3 separate regions of the Homo sapiens genome follow, and all the other regions are linked to region 3. The links are contacts of gene promoters, found by promoter capture Hi-C in human tissues and cell types (Jung and others, 2019). All regions are on one chromosome and are shown on one strand. The core of a region is centred on a gene start or on the middle of the fragment in contact, and the rest is flanking DNA. Distances in the headings are between cores, read along the strand shown.

What was found. Contacts are between HindIII fragments. The study calls those that stand out against the background at their distance.
Region 1: the fragment with the promoter of MVD here is called in contact with the fragment with the promoter of ACSF3 in region 3 in 2 of the 25 tissues and cell types used here (dorsolateral prefrontal cortex and mesenchymal stem cells).
Region 2: a fragment that was not itself captured here is called in contact with the fragment with the promoter of ACSF3 in region 3 in 1 of the 25 tissues and cell types used here (small bowel).

What each region holds. Positions count from the first base shown.
Region 1 is chr16:88,660,360-88,665,144 of GRCh38, forward strand. It overlaps MVD (mevalonate diphosphate decarboxylase), which reads right to left and starts at 2,732. Exons shown (of 10, transcript NM_002461.3): 1 at 2,652-2,732. The coding sequence starts at 2,721. It overlaps SNAI3-AS1 (SNAI3 antisense RNA 1), which reads left to right and starts at 3,014. Exons shown (of 4, transcript NR_024399.1): 1 at 3,014-3,041. RefSeq lists silencers at 2,477-2,896, 3,237-3,396 and an enhancer at 2,977-3,026. The HindIII fragment of the contact is 7,255 bases long and covers 1-4,785 here.
Region 2 is chr16:89,400,437-89,405,182 of GRCh38, forward strand. All of the region lies in intron 2 of ANKRD11 (ankyrin repeat domain containing 11), which reads right to left. The region is part of intron 1 of LOC128462377; the gene reads right to left. Among named protein-coding and RNA genes, the nearest start is that of ANKRD11, 88 kb to the right of the region's middle. RefSeq lists enhancers at 952-1,452, 1,453-1,953, 4,603-4,652. The HindIII fragment of the contact is 6,709 bases long and covers 1-4,746 here.
Region 3 is chr16:89,091,292-89,095,724 of GRCh38, forward strand. It overlaps ACSF3 (acyl-CoA synthetase family member 3), which reads left to right and starts at 2,561. Exons shown (of 11, transcript NM_001243279.3): 1 at 2,561-2,705. RefSeq lists a silencer at 2,325-2,734 and an enhancer at 3,155-3,344. The HindIII fragment of the contact is 24,302 bases long and covers 1-4,433 here.

The DNA.
Region 1 (4,785 bases), core at 1,482-3,981, 430 kb before region 3:
GTTGGTGAGCCTCAGTGGCTCACACCTACGATCCCAGCACTTTGGGAGGCCGAAGCAGGCAGATCACTTGAGGTCAGGAGTTTAAGACCAGCCTGGCCAATATGGCAAAACCCCGTCTCCACTAAAAGTACAAAAATTAGCCAGGTGTGGTGGCGCACACCTGTAGTCCCAGCTACTCGAGAGGCTGAGGCAGGAGAATCGGTTGAACCCGGGAAGCGGAGGTTGCAGTGAGCCGAGATCACGCCATTGCACTCCAGCCTGGGTGTCGCAGTGACAGTCTGTCTCAAAAAAATAAATATAAAAGTAATACAAATAAATATAAAAATATAAATATAAAATAAATAAATATAAAAAATAAAAATAAAAGGCCAGACGCGGTGGCTCACACCTGTAATCCCAGCACTTTGGGAGGCTGAGGTGGGCAGATCACGAGGTCAGGAGCTTCAGACCAGCCTGGCTAACACGGTGAAACCCCATCTCTACTAAAAATACAAAAATTAGCCAAGTGTGGTGGCACGTGCATGTAGTCCCAAATACTCAGAAGACTAAGGCAGGAGAATTGCTTGAACCCAGGAGGCGGAGGTTACAGTGAGCCAAGATTGTGCCACTGCACTCCAGCCTGGGTGACAGAGCAAGACTCTGTCTCAAAAAAAAAAAAAAAAAAAAAAAAAATAGCAGAAGAGAAAATCCAGAAATAGACCCACACAAACATGCCCAGCTGATTTTTTTTTTTACAAAAGTGCAAAAGCAATTCAATAGAGGAAGGATAGCCTTTCTGGGCTAACTGGACAACCTTGGATCACAGACTTAAATATAAAAGGCAATCCTGTACAACTTGGAGGAAAGCAGACAATCTTCAGGACATAGGGCTAAGCAAAGAGGTCTTAGACTTGACATCAACATTGATACACTGAACTTCTTTAAAATGAAAAACTGGCTCTTTGTTAAGAGGACAAAAAGATTAGCTAGTTTGGGAGACAATACCTGCAAACCACATGTCCAACAGGAGACTAATATCTAGAATACATATTTTATTTTTTTTCAGTAGAGACGGGGGTTTCACCATGTTGGCCAAGCTGGTCTCAAACTCCTGACCTCAGGTGATCCGCCCACCTCAGCCTCCCCAAGTGCTGGGATTACAGGCTTGAGCCAGCGTGCCCAGCCTAGAATGTGTAATGAACTCTCCAAACTTATAGTAAAAAAGCAAACCATCCAGTTCGAGCGTGGACACAGAATATGAAGAGAGATTTCACCAAGAAAACCCACAGATGGCAAATAAGCACAAAGAAAGATGCTCCACGTCACTGGCCAACAGGGAAACGCGAATGAGGACCACAGCACCCTGCCAGCACATCCCTACCAGGACGCGGCTAAAATGAAAAACAGCAACTCCACCAAATGCTGGTGAGGATGCGGAAAATCTGCATCACCGTAGGGATGCAAAATGGCCCAGCCACTCTGAAAAACAATTAGACAGTTTCTTTAAAAAAAAAAAGTATATATATAATATATATATGTATATATACACACACATACATCTATATAGGTGTATACATATACACACACATATATCTATACAGGTGTATATATATATACACACACACAAACATACATATATACATAGAAAGAGAGAGAGAGACAGAGAGGCATATATATATATCTACCATCTGACCCAGCAACCGCACTCCTGGGCATTTATCCCAGAAGAATGGAAATGTATGTTCACACAAAAACCTGTATACAACATTTTATGGCAGCTTTATTGGTAAGGGAAACACAAAAAAATTAGCCAGTCGTGGTGGCGGCTTCTGGAAAGAAAAGAAAGAAAGAAAGAAAACGTTAGATGCTCTTTGCGGGGTGAGGCCTTGGCTAGAGAGAGGGTGGTCCATGGATTCCACGGACTGGCTCAGCAACAGAGGGGCAAAGCACTGATACAATCCCGGGGCACGTCCACATTCTATGCTGAATGAAATAAGCCAAACTCAAAAGATACTGGGTGGGCCACATAACTGCGATTCCAGTTTCAGAACATTTTGAAATGACGTTACAGAAATGAGTGGTCAGTGGCGGCCAGGTAACCCCGGCGCGAGGGGAGGGGCGGGGCTGTGAACGCACAGGTGCGGACCGGCCTCCCCGGCACGGATGTGGGCCTGCGGGCCCCCCATTACCGCTCCTTGGAGGTTACCGCTGGGAGAAACGGGGCGAGGGAGGGACACAGGGTCTCGGGCTGGGGGAGCAGTGGCGCGATTTCCGCTCACTGCAGCCTCGACCTCCCGGGCTCTGGCCATCCTCCCGCCTCAGCCTCCCGAGTAGCTGGAGCCACAAACGCGCACCACCACGGCGGATTCTTACGATTCATGGGAATCGATGATTGATGATTTCGATAGTTCGGTAATCGCTAATGGGCAGGCGCCGGGCGACCCTGCAGGGGCGGCAGCCGTCGCGGGGGAACGGGTGGCGCCGAGCTTGTCACGCGAAGGAGCGCGCGGCCCCGCCCGACCACCGCCGCGCCCCTCCCTGAGCCTCAGTTTCCCCGTCTGTCGAGGCCCTGGGAGGGCAGGACGGAGCGCGCCGCCGAATCAGCGCGCGACCCCCGCGTACCCGGCCTCGCTCCCGGCCATCCCCGTCCCAGGCCGGCCCGCGGCACTCACAGTACTTGATGACCGCGATGTTGACCGGCGCTGTACAAGTGACTGCCGCCAGCGGCTTCTCCGAGGCCATGGTCCCACCGCGCAGTGACCCCAGCTCCACAGCCACTTACGGCCCGCGATCCCACCCCAGAGGCCTCTGCCTCCTCACGCGCTACCACAGGATTGGCCCGTGCGAGCCCGGCTGCTCGCGCGCCGACCAATCAGCGGCGAGTCGGGCGCACGCATTACCTCTCAGCCAATGGACGGGATCGGACGATGGGTTGCTGACGTAGGTCCGCCCCACCCGCAGGGTGCGCTCGCCAGGCCTGGGGCGTGGTGTTGTCTGCGCAGGCGCCGTGTGCCCAGGCGCCTGGCGTCCGCGTCGGCGATCCGGGGTCTGGGCGCGGCGAGGTGGGCGCTGTTGCCTGTGGGGGCTACCTGTCTGCTGGTGCTGTGCGGGCTTGTGCGGGGCTGTGCGGCAGCTGTGTGGGGCCCGTGAGGAGCTGTGCGGGGGGCTGTGCGAAGGGCTGTGTGAGGCGCTGTGCTGGGGGCTGTGCGGAGACCTTGAGGCGCTGTGCGGGGTCCGTGAGGCTCTGTGTGGGGCGCCGTGTGGGAGACTCTGCGGGGGCCGTAAAGGGTCCGTGAGGCGCTGTGTGCGGGTTGTGAGGCGCTGTGCGGGGACCATGAAGGGGCCGTGGGGCGCTGTGCGGGTGCCGTGGGGCGCTGTGTGGGAGGGAGGCTGTGCGGGGCCGTGGGACGGTGTGCGGGGCTGAGGGGAGGGCGGGTCGCGCTGTGCCCTCCTTGAAGCTCTTGGACGGCCCCGCTGGGTATGGGGGTGCACACAGGCCCGAGGGCAGGCGCTGGAGGATGTATCCCGGGATCCACTCTTAACCCGGCAGCCGAAGGCACCCTGTCCCGCCGCCCACAGCCTTCTCCGCGCCATGTCCTGGGCCAGGATCCCCCGCCACGGGGCTCACACGAAAGACCCCGGGGCGGGGAAGCCCCGCAGCCCGGAGCTGGGTCCAACCTGCATTAAGGTGGGCGTCTCAAATACCCCCTGTAAGGCCCTGTAGGAGCAAAGCCTTGGACTGGGTTGCGGCGCTTGTGTGTGCATTGACTTCTCCTGTGAAACGTACAGGAACATTTAAGCGTGCCGTTCCCTGCCATTCATTCCAATCATGTGCCACGCCCCCACTATTTCTAGAGTTTTCTCACCCCAAACAGAAACTCTGTCCCCTTAAAACAATGACTTCCCATTTTCCCCTTCCCCTTTTAAAATTTTACCTTTAGTTTTTAAATAGCTCAGATTGGCTGGGCATGGTGGCTCACACCTGTAATCCCAGCACTTTGGGAGGCCGAGGTGGGCGGATCACGAGGTCAGGAGTTTGAGACCAGCCTGGCCAACATGGTGAAACCCTGTCTCTACTAAAAATACAATAATTAGGTGGGCGTGTGGTGCACGCCTGTAATCCCAGCTACTGGGGAGGCTGAGGCAGGACAATTGCTTGAACTCAGGAGGCGGAAGTTGCAGTGAGCCGAGATGGTGCTGCTGTACTCCAGCCAGGGTGACAGAGCAAGACTCCATCTCAAAAAAAAAAAAAAAAAAAAAAAAAACTCAGATTTCGGAAAATAGGGGAGTATGCAGTGTGAAGTGTCCACTCTGCCTAGCCACCTACTTCTATTACCAGAACCATCATACTTATAAATTCTTTATTTTTTTCCAGAAATAGAAAAAAAGTCTGTTTTTTTTCTCACTCTGTTGCTCAGGCTGGAGGGCAGTGGTACGATCAAAGCTCCATGCAGCCTCGACCTCCTGGCTCAAGGGATCTTCCCACCTCAGTTTCCTCAGTAGTTGGGACTACAGGTACACACCACCATGCCCGGCTAATTTTTTTCTTAATTTTTTTGTAGAGATGTGGGGGGGTCTTGCTATGTTGCCCAGGCTGATTTGAAGTCCTGGCCTCAGGGAACCCTCCCATCTCAGTCTTCCAAAGTACTGGGATTAGGTGTGAGCCACTCCACCTGGCCTGTCAATTCTTTGTGTATTTTTTCATTGACGTGCATAGTACAAGCACATAGCGTGTTCTCCCACCTTGCTTTTTCTACGTACCTTCTTCTTAGAGATCATCCCAATTTAGTAAAAAGCTTCCTTGTT
Region 2 (4,746 bases), core at 1,087-3,586, 310 kb after region 3:
CTGCGCTGGGGGACGGTCATCTGCTGCCCCAGGCTTCCCTGCGCTGGGGGCCGGTCATCTGCTGCCCCAGGCTTCCCTGCGCTGGGGGATGGTCATCTGCTGCCCCAGGCTTCCCTGCGCTGGGGGCCGGTCATCTGCTGCCCCAGGCTTCCCTGCGCTGGGGGCCGGTCATCTGCTGCCCCAGGCTTCCCTGCGCTGGGGGATGGTCATCTGCTGCCCCAGGCTTCCCTGCGCTGGGGGCCGGTCATCTGCTGCCCCAGGCTTCCCTGCGCTGGGGGCCGGTCATCTGCTGCCCCAGGCTTCCCTGCGCTGGGGGATGGTCATCTGCTGCCCCAGGCTTCCCTGCGCTGGGGGCCGGTCATCTGCTGCCCCAGGCTTCCCTGCGCTGGAGGCTGGTCATCTGACGGGAACCCCTGCAGCCACCTGGACCAGCTGCACACACCTTGGACGCCTGTCGCCCTCCACCCTCTGCAGACACCCTCTCACAGGCTCCACCCTGCTCGGGTTCACAGACACATCCCCCGTCTGCCCCGGGGCTGCCTGGCATGGCACCCAAGACCAAGATGGAAAGGGAGGCCCCGCGTGTGGGTGGACAAATCCACAACACGCTGGCCCTCAAGTTGTCTCAGTAATGTTATATATTTCTCTCTCCCCCCCACCCGCCCTCCCCCTCCCCAGAGGGAGTCTTGTTCTGCTGCTCAGGCTGGAGTGCAATGGTGTGATCTCGACTCATTGCAACCTCTGCCTCCCAAGTTCAAGCAATTCTCCTGCCTCAGCCTTCCAAGACGGCCGCCACCACGCCCGGCTAACATTTGGATTTTTAGTAGAGACCGGGTTTCGCCATGTTAGCCAGGCTGGTCTCGAACTCCTGACCTCGTGATCCACCCACCTTGGCCTCCCAAAGTGCTGGGATTACAGCACGAGCCACTGCGTCTGGCATTAAATTTCTCTCTTGATTATGCAGCCACTAAATATCACGCTGGGATAATGGGAAATTAATGCTAAGCTTTAAAATGCAGAATGTGAAGCCTTATATCCAGAGTAATCCTTATTTTGTAAAAAGTACATGATATATTCAACATTTTAGATTTACATGTTTTATCTTGGGTGGAAGGATTACAGGCGATTTTTACTTTCTTCTCTATGCTTTATTTACTGGTGTTATGAGTTGAAATGTGTCCCCCAAGAATGGTATGTTGAAGTCCTAGCCCCCCAACACCACAGACGATGGCCTTCCTGGGAAACATGGTCTTTGCAGATGATCCAGGTGAGATCGCTAGGGTGGGCCCTCACCCCACAGAACTAGCTTCCTTCTACAAAGGGCAGACGTGGACACTGAGCTGTGCACGCAGGGAGAACGCTGGGTGAAGAGGGAGGCGGAGATCGTGGTGATGCGTCTACAAGCCCGGGCGCACCAGAGACTCCCCCATCCCCCAGAACCCGCCGGGCACACCAGAGACTCCCCCATCCCCCAGAACCTGGAGAGAGGCCTGGAGCAGATGCCCGCCCCCACCCCTCCAGCACCGCAGAAGGAACCGGCCCTGCAGACAGCTTGGTCTCAGAGCCGTGGGAGAACAGATCCTTGCTGTGAAAGCTCCTGGTCTGTGGTGATTTATCACGGCAGCCCCGAAAGACCCCCACACCAAGTTTCACTCTCTGTCCATGGACCTCTTTAATGGAAATCCTGACTTTTCCATAAGGCACTGAATCTGTGTAACTTTTAGAGTAAGGAGGACGACCTACAGTTCACTGCATGAAAGCACAGCCCTTCCAACAAAGGCAGGCGAAATGTGGAACCAATTATATCTGGGTGCCTACACGTGACGTACGCCAGTTCTTTGTAGAAAGAACGAGGCTTGTCTCAGCGATACTAATGTACAGTTCACATGAACTCCTAACCTTAGCCAGCCACAATAAGGTATCTGGGATTGAGCGCTTATTTAAATCGGTAGGCACATCAATTTAAATTTAGGTAGTAGCTCAGCCTGTACCTAACACATGAGGAAGCCGAGGCGGGAAGATCGGTTGACTCCAAGAGTTCAAGAGCATCCTGGGAATGACAGGGAGACCCCGCCTCTAGAAAAACATTTAAAAATTGCTGCGTATGGTGCCGCACACCAGCAGAGTCCCAGCTACTCGGGAGGCTGAGGTGGGAGGATTGGTTGAGCCTGGGAGTTCAAGCCTTGAGTGAGCTGTGGGTGGGGGGGGCAGCACTGCAGGGTGAGGTGAAGGGGGTGGTTCTGCGGGAGGAGGTGAGGTGGCTCTGCGAGGTTAGGAGAGGGGGCAGGGGCTCTGTGGGGTGAGATAGGGGGTATCTGCAGGGTGAGGTGAGGGGACAGCTCTGTGGGATGAGGTGAGGTGGGGGTTCTGCGGAATGAGGTTGGGGGGGCGGCACTGCGGGAGGAGGTGGGCGGGGTGGGGCCTGCAGACCCTCCAGGCTCTCCCGGGGGAAGGAGCCCCATCAGGGCCAGCACTGCGCCACTCCCAACAAAGCAGGCAACCTAGCCTGCCAGTGGAGACCTCTTTTCCGCCTGGGCTCCAGCTCTAGAGCAAGGCCAGTCACCTCAGCCCCACCATCAAACACCAGGCTCCACATGGGCACTGCCTCGCTCAACTGCGTGGTGGCGGGTGGCCTGGAACGCTGCTGTCATCACTGCACGTGGACACATCATCAACCTCTCAGCGTGACGTGCCCTCGTGCTTTCAGGTAAAACACTACAGAGAAACTTCCTGTTGGCAGGTGGACCCCGCACTCCCTAGGGCCTGATCCGCTCCCTCTCTTCTGCTTTACGGGCACTGACAGGAAGTATCTGATGCGCACTCACTCACACCAGCCACGCACATGTTGTGAGCAATCCTGTGTGGCCTGCTCCCCCCTCCTGACCGGCCCCTCCTGACTGGCCCCAGCACCGCGTGGAAGAACATGGAGGAGCTCATCTGTCTGAGGATAGGAAGCAGCAGAGCACACGCAGGTGAGGGCAGAGCGGGGAACCCAAGTCCCGAGGAAGTTTCTCAGTAAGCGAGGCCCCGCGCTCTGGGAGGGCACCCCCAGGAAGCCCACACATAAAGCAACTGGACACACGCTCAACTACGACTGGGCAATGACAGTAGCTTAAAAAAAAAAAGTACACCACCAAACAGACAAAGACCAGAGACCACTTACATAAAAGCCCTGCTGCCTCCCCGGGAAGGGATTTCAAAACACTTCTTTAGGTGAGCACGACAGCACGTGCCTTTAATCACAGCTACTCAAGAGGCTGAGGCAGGAAGATGACTTGAGGCCATAAGTTTGAGGCCAATCTGGGCAACAGAGCAAGCCCACCTCTAAAAAAGTAAAAATAAAAAAATTAGGCGGGTGTGGTGACATGCGTCTGGAGTCCCAGCTACTCGGAAGGCTGAGGAAGGGGCATCATTTCAGTCCAAGAGTTGAGGCTGCAGTAAGCCATGACTGCACTCCAGCCTGGTCAACAAAGCAAGACTTGTCTCTTAAAAAAGCAAAACAACAACACATCTTTATATTATAGGGCACAGAAAGGAGCAAGATTATAAAACTAAAATAGGGTGAAAGAATGCAAGAGACTCAGAACTATGGCAAACTTATAACTAAAATTCCAAACTACAGGAAACTCTCAGAGCAAACGCTGCATCACATAAGCTGCTAGCCCGGCACATGATTGTGAAGAATCAGGAGTCCTCTCAGCACCAACAGACAGTCATGGACACAGCCCACAGGTGGCTCGACCCACCAGCCTCAGGCAGCATGGGGTTGAGAGGGGAAGCCCAGTTTGGCCGACTGTAGAACCCTGTTCTAGTCTCCTATCCACCCTCACCAAGGCACTAAATCACCAGCAAAGACTCTGAGAACATCAACATCTGTGTAACTAAGGAAAATGGAAGTGCAGGAAGGAATACATTTTTGTAATCAAAGGGCATGAAAAAAATTGCCTTCACTGAAAACACTGAAAAGGTACAACCCTATTATGTCTCCTGCTAGGAAAAATTTTCCTCTGCTTTTAAAGGATTAATAGCCACAAAATATTATTTTGTTATTCTGGTGTCCTCCAGAAAATGAGCCAACAGTTTGAAGGGTATGGGGTAAAGAGAAGAGAAGGAAAAGCTGCTTTTGAAAACACTGTTGACTCGCAAAGTTACCAGCACTCTATCAGGCTAATGCCTAGGTCAGGAGAAGACAGACGCAGTCACTACTATGGATCCTGAGGGCGAGAAACTCTGGATGCCACAAAGTGGCATGTTCAACCTTCCTACAAGCACACAGAGGTGAAGCCTGGAGAACAGGCAGGGACAGGCCCAGCTGGCCATGTGCTCAGCCACGCCTACCTCGCAAGGTCATTCTGAGGATGAAGGCATCATGGATCCAAATGCCACCTTGACGCTGAATGTACTACACAATAAAAGAACCACTGTAAATCACACTATTGACTCTTGCTTGGTTGATGTTCTTTCCTTTACAGTAAAGTGAACTCGTGGACAAACATCGTGTCCACAGACCACCATAAATGTAGTTTGTTGTTTTAAATAAAACTGAAATCAGACTTCCAAAAAGAAACATCTAAAAACTTCTCCTCTCCCATCCCACCAGAGCCATGGCCCACAACACAGCCCGACGCCCCGTCACACGCTCTCACAGGACAACTGCCCACACCAGTTAACCTGGTGTCACGGTGGAGGCGAGGTTGCGGTGAGTGGAGATCACGCCATTGCACTCCAGCCTGGGCGACAGAGCAA
Region 3 (4,433 bases), core at 1,311-3,810:
CTGAGCAGGATCCCACTCAGGTTTTAATGGGGCTACTCCAGCCACTGTTGGGTTCTTCATGAATCCAGTGAGGACTCCTTTAGGAAACAAGGCTTTCCTGGTCTGGGTGGTTACAGCAGCGCTGGTGGGACAGTCTCTGACAGAATTTGCAGGAGAAACCAGTAGGACTCAATGTGGTGTGGGAGGGAAGCAGGGAGCCATAGACTGAACCCCAGGATCGAGGGTGAGATGCAAAGTGTGAGGGTGGGGGCGCTGCTGCGGGGGAGACCTGAGCTCCTCTGGGGCCACATCGGGGTCTGATGTCTCTTGGATGTCCCAGTGAGATGCCAGGTGGGCACTTAGGACCCTCCCTGTCCACATGTTCTAAACTACATTGACGTCGTCTGCCTGGTTGGTGCGGCCACTTTCACTCCCTGCGCTGGATGTTCTGCAGCCCTTCGTCTGCTAATGTCCACGAGTTTACCTGACAGCTGACTTCTCTCTGTTTTCTCTGCCCTCCCTTCCTGAAACTACCGTATTTAGCATATTGGATGCCTGCCTGAGCCCACTGATTTTTTTATCTTTCCTCTCCTGTTTTTCATCTCTCGGTCTTTCTGTTCTATTTCTAGGAGACGTCCTTTAGCCCTTCCCTTAGGGTTTTTACTCAGGCTGTTGTATTCTGACCCCTCCAGCCCCCCTTTATGTTACTGGAACGCTCTTTCTCGGGGCATCTCGCTCTGGACTCATGGGGGCTGTCGCTTCCCTTGTCTCCCTGAGGGTATTAACAGGGGGTGGTTTTGGGGGTCTCTTCACTCTGCACAGCCTGGCTGCCTGCAGTTGTTCTGCTGGTTGTTTCAGCCCACGTCTCTCTGGCTAGAGGCTGTCCTCCAATGTCTGCTAATCCCTGACTGCTCCTGCTTCCCACCTGCCACTATGATGCTGACCAGAGCCGAGGCACAGATGGGACCCCTGCTCATAGGATGACTGGGCCATTTCTCGGAGACTGCACCCTCCCCCCACTGCCACCCTCACAGAGCCATGGCCAAGGACCACGGGAGCTGTCACCCTGTCCCAAGTCCTGTCTCTAGGTGGGTGACGCAGCCTGAGCTCTTCAACTTCCCAGGGATAGAAATTTGCGCACACACGTCCTGGGGCTGAATCCTGATGTTAGACGCCCTCCTTACTCTTCCTACTGCCCTCGTCGGAAACACCATTCAGCCTGCTGAGTCCTGGAAGCAGACAGAATTCTGACACCAGATCAAGCCTGTCCCAGTGGCAGAGGGTTGGACTTGCTTTTTCTGCATGATACCTAGCAGGGTGGCAACCAGAGGCACTAGAAGTTTGGGTTTGTTCTCCCACGCTCTGTGTTACAAACTTCCCCCAGATCCAGCTCCTTCCTCCCAGGAAAACCATCCTCGGGCTCCTGAAGTGCCCTTTCCTGAGCTTTCCAAGGACACAACTGCTGCCCCAGCAATCATCACAAGAGAGGAAGATGGGCATGGAAAATAATACACTTACAAAAAAACTGTGCAAGGTTCTGCAGATAATTTTTTTTTTTTTTTGAGACAGTCTCACTCTGCTGCCCAGGCTGGAGTGCAGTGGCGCAATCTCAGCTCACTGCAGTCGCCACCTCCCAGGCTCAAGAGATTCTCCTGCCTCAGCCTCCCGAGTAACTGGGATTACAGGCACCTGCCACCACTCCCGGCTAATTTTTGTATTTTTAGGAGAGACAGGGTTTCACCATGTTGGTCAGGCTGGTCTTGAACTCCTGACCTCGTGATCTGCCTACCTCGGCCTCCCAAAGTGCTGGGATTACAGGCGTGAGCCATCACACCAGGACGGTTCTGCAGATAATTTGTACTACTGTTTGCCAGTACATGTCTTTGTGTTATTAGTATTCATTTTAGGGGAAAAACCCTCAAATTTCAGCCAACTGGACTTTGTGTTTGGCTTTAAATGTTTTCCGCCACTGTCCATCCAACAGTCTCGCTTCATATTCGTATCCTGGTTCCCAAGTCCCTTCGAGGAGAGATTCTCAAATGCGGTCCGTTTAAAATCACCCAAGAAATACAAAAATTAGACAGGCATGATGGCGGGCGCCTGTAGTCCCAGCTAATTGGGAGGTTGAGGCAGGAGAATCACTTGAACCCGGGAGGCGGAGGTTGCGGTGAGCCGAGATCACACCACTGCACTCTAGTCTGGGCGACAGAGCGAGACTCCATCTCAAAATAATAATAATAATAAGAAAAAGTAACAACAATAATAATAATAATAAAATCACCCAGGAGCTCAGCGTGCAGACCCCCAGCCGCAAAGCCCAGAGAGCCCCTTTTGGGAGGACGGGGCGAGGCCCAGCAATCCGCGTTGGGAGTGGTCCCGCGCGCCGTTCTGATCTGGGCAGCCCTGGGCTAGCGGAGACCACGGCGCCTTGCCTCGGCCACGGCTCACGAGACGCCCGCGGCCCCGACCCCGCCACGACGGGACGGGCGGGACAGGGGAACACGCGCGCCCGGAACCCGCCGCCACGGCGCCGCGCCGGGGGGACGCGCTTGGGCGACGGACGCGCCGCGCCGGGGAAGCTGTTGGGCGCCGGAACTGGTCCGGCCCGACTCACGACCCCGCGGGACCCGGCCGGAACCCGGCCCGACCCCGGCGCGCGCGCGGCGGAGGACGAGGAAGAGTTGTGGCGAGGCAGATCCTGCCCCGTGGCCGCGGCCGTCTCGTAGGTGCGGGCGGCGGGGCCCACGGGACCGCGGCGGGGTCGGCCGGGCGCAGAGCTCTCGGGGGCGCGGGCTCCGGCGCCCGCCCCTGGGTCGCAGCTGGGCTTGAGCCGTGGCCCGTGGCGCGGTCGCTTCCCCGCGAGCCGCCTGGGGCCGGGCGTCGGCCTTCCCGGGACGCCGAGCCTCTCGTGTCCGGTGGGGAGCGGGGCCCCCGCGCGGGGTGCGGGGAGAGAAGCTGTGCGGACGCCGGGCCCGGTGATACCGTCGAGCCGGCGGGGTCCGTGTTCAGGCATCCTCAGAACGAATCGTCTTTGGTTGTGTTTGGAATAAATTCACTTCCATTTCTCATTGGGCTTCAGAAGTCACCCTTGAAGTACTCCCCGTTTTAGTTGTTTGCTGCGTGCACCTTGCTGGGCGCGTGGGGCACAGGTTCACAGCCGGCCTAGCCCCTGAGGGCATGTAGATCTATGAGCAAGCAATGGAGACGTGCGGCCGGCCGTGAAGTATTTGGAAGGTACTGCAGGCAGCCCATTCCCTGGAGAGAGGGAAGGTTTAAAGGGGTGAGGCCCGGTGCAGTCAGGAGTTGATGTTGCTGTCCTGAGTCTAAATTCCACCAGGCAGGCCAGGTGCAGTGGCTCATGCCTGTAATCCCAGCGCTTTGGGCAGCAGAGGCAGGAGGATCACTTGTGGCCAGGAGTTCAAAGCCAGCCTGGGCAACATGGTGAGACCCCTATCTCTACAAAAAAATGTAAAAATTAGCTGGGTGTGGTGGCGTACACCTGCACTTCCAGCTACTGGTTAGGCTGAGGCACGAGGATTTCTTGAGCCCAGGAATCGGAGGCTGCAGTGAGCCATGACAGCACCATTGCACTCCAGCCTAGGTGGCAGAGCAAGACACTGTCTCAATAAATAATAAAACTGAAAAAGAAGAGGTGATATTTGAACTGGGCTTGGAAGAATGATTAGGAATTTGCTAGAAAGGGAACACGTTTAGAGATAGGAACACGAATTGTGTCTGGGGCATAGTTGTTGCTTTCCCATCCTGGGAGGACAGACATTCGTGTTAGGGCCCAAGGCTGAGACCTTGTTGAGGAGGGGGTTCACATGGTGGACCCAGGAGCACGGGTGTTACTACCGGTGGACCCTGGGGACCCTGCGAGCTTTGTAGCGTGAAGCCTGGCTCAGGCTGGTGTCCTCTCCGCAGGTGTTGGAGGACATAAGATGAGGCTTCCCTTGCTCTTGCTCCTTTGGCTCTGAACCATCTCCTCAAGGCAGACAGAAATGGCGGATTAAACTGTGGGCTTGGGATAGTTGTAAGTGTCACCTTTCCAGATGGCATTTTTAAAATAGTATTTTTCTTCCTAAAATGGATATGGGTTTCAAGTGTATTTTTCCTTTTTGGTTTTTTTTATTTGAATGTACTGCTCATGAATGCAATGTGAATGTCTGTTACTTAAAAATGTAATTTTGAAAATAACCCTCCAAACCACAGGTGTGATGCTGAAACGCATCCTGCCCCGCAGGCCGAGCACAGCCCTCCTCTGCCCCACGCTCTCATCGGGGCAGCCGACAGGAGGAAGTGCCGGCATCCACTTCAAACACAAGGTCTGGGGGGGCGGGGGTGTCAGGTGTGGTGGTGAACAGGTCAGGTGTCGTTTTATTCATGTTGAAAGCAGCCCTTCATTTGAATGCGAGTGTCATTCTCATCTAGTAATTTTTGTTGCGAGGCTCCAT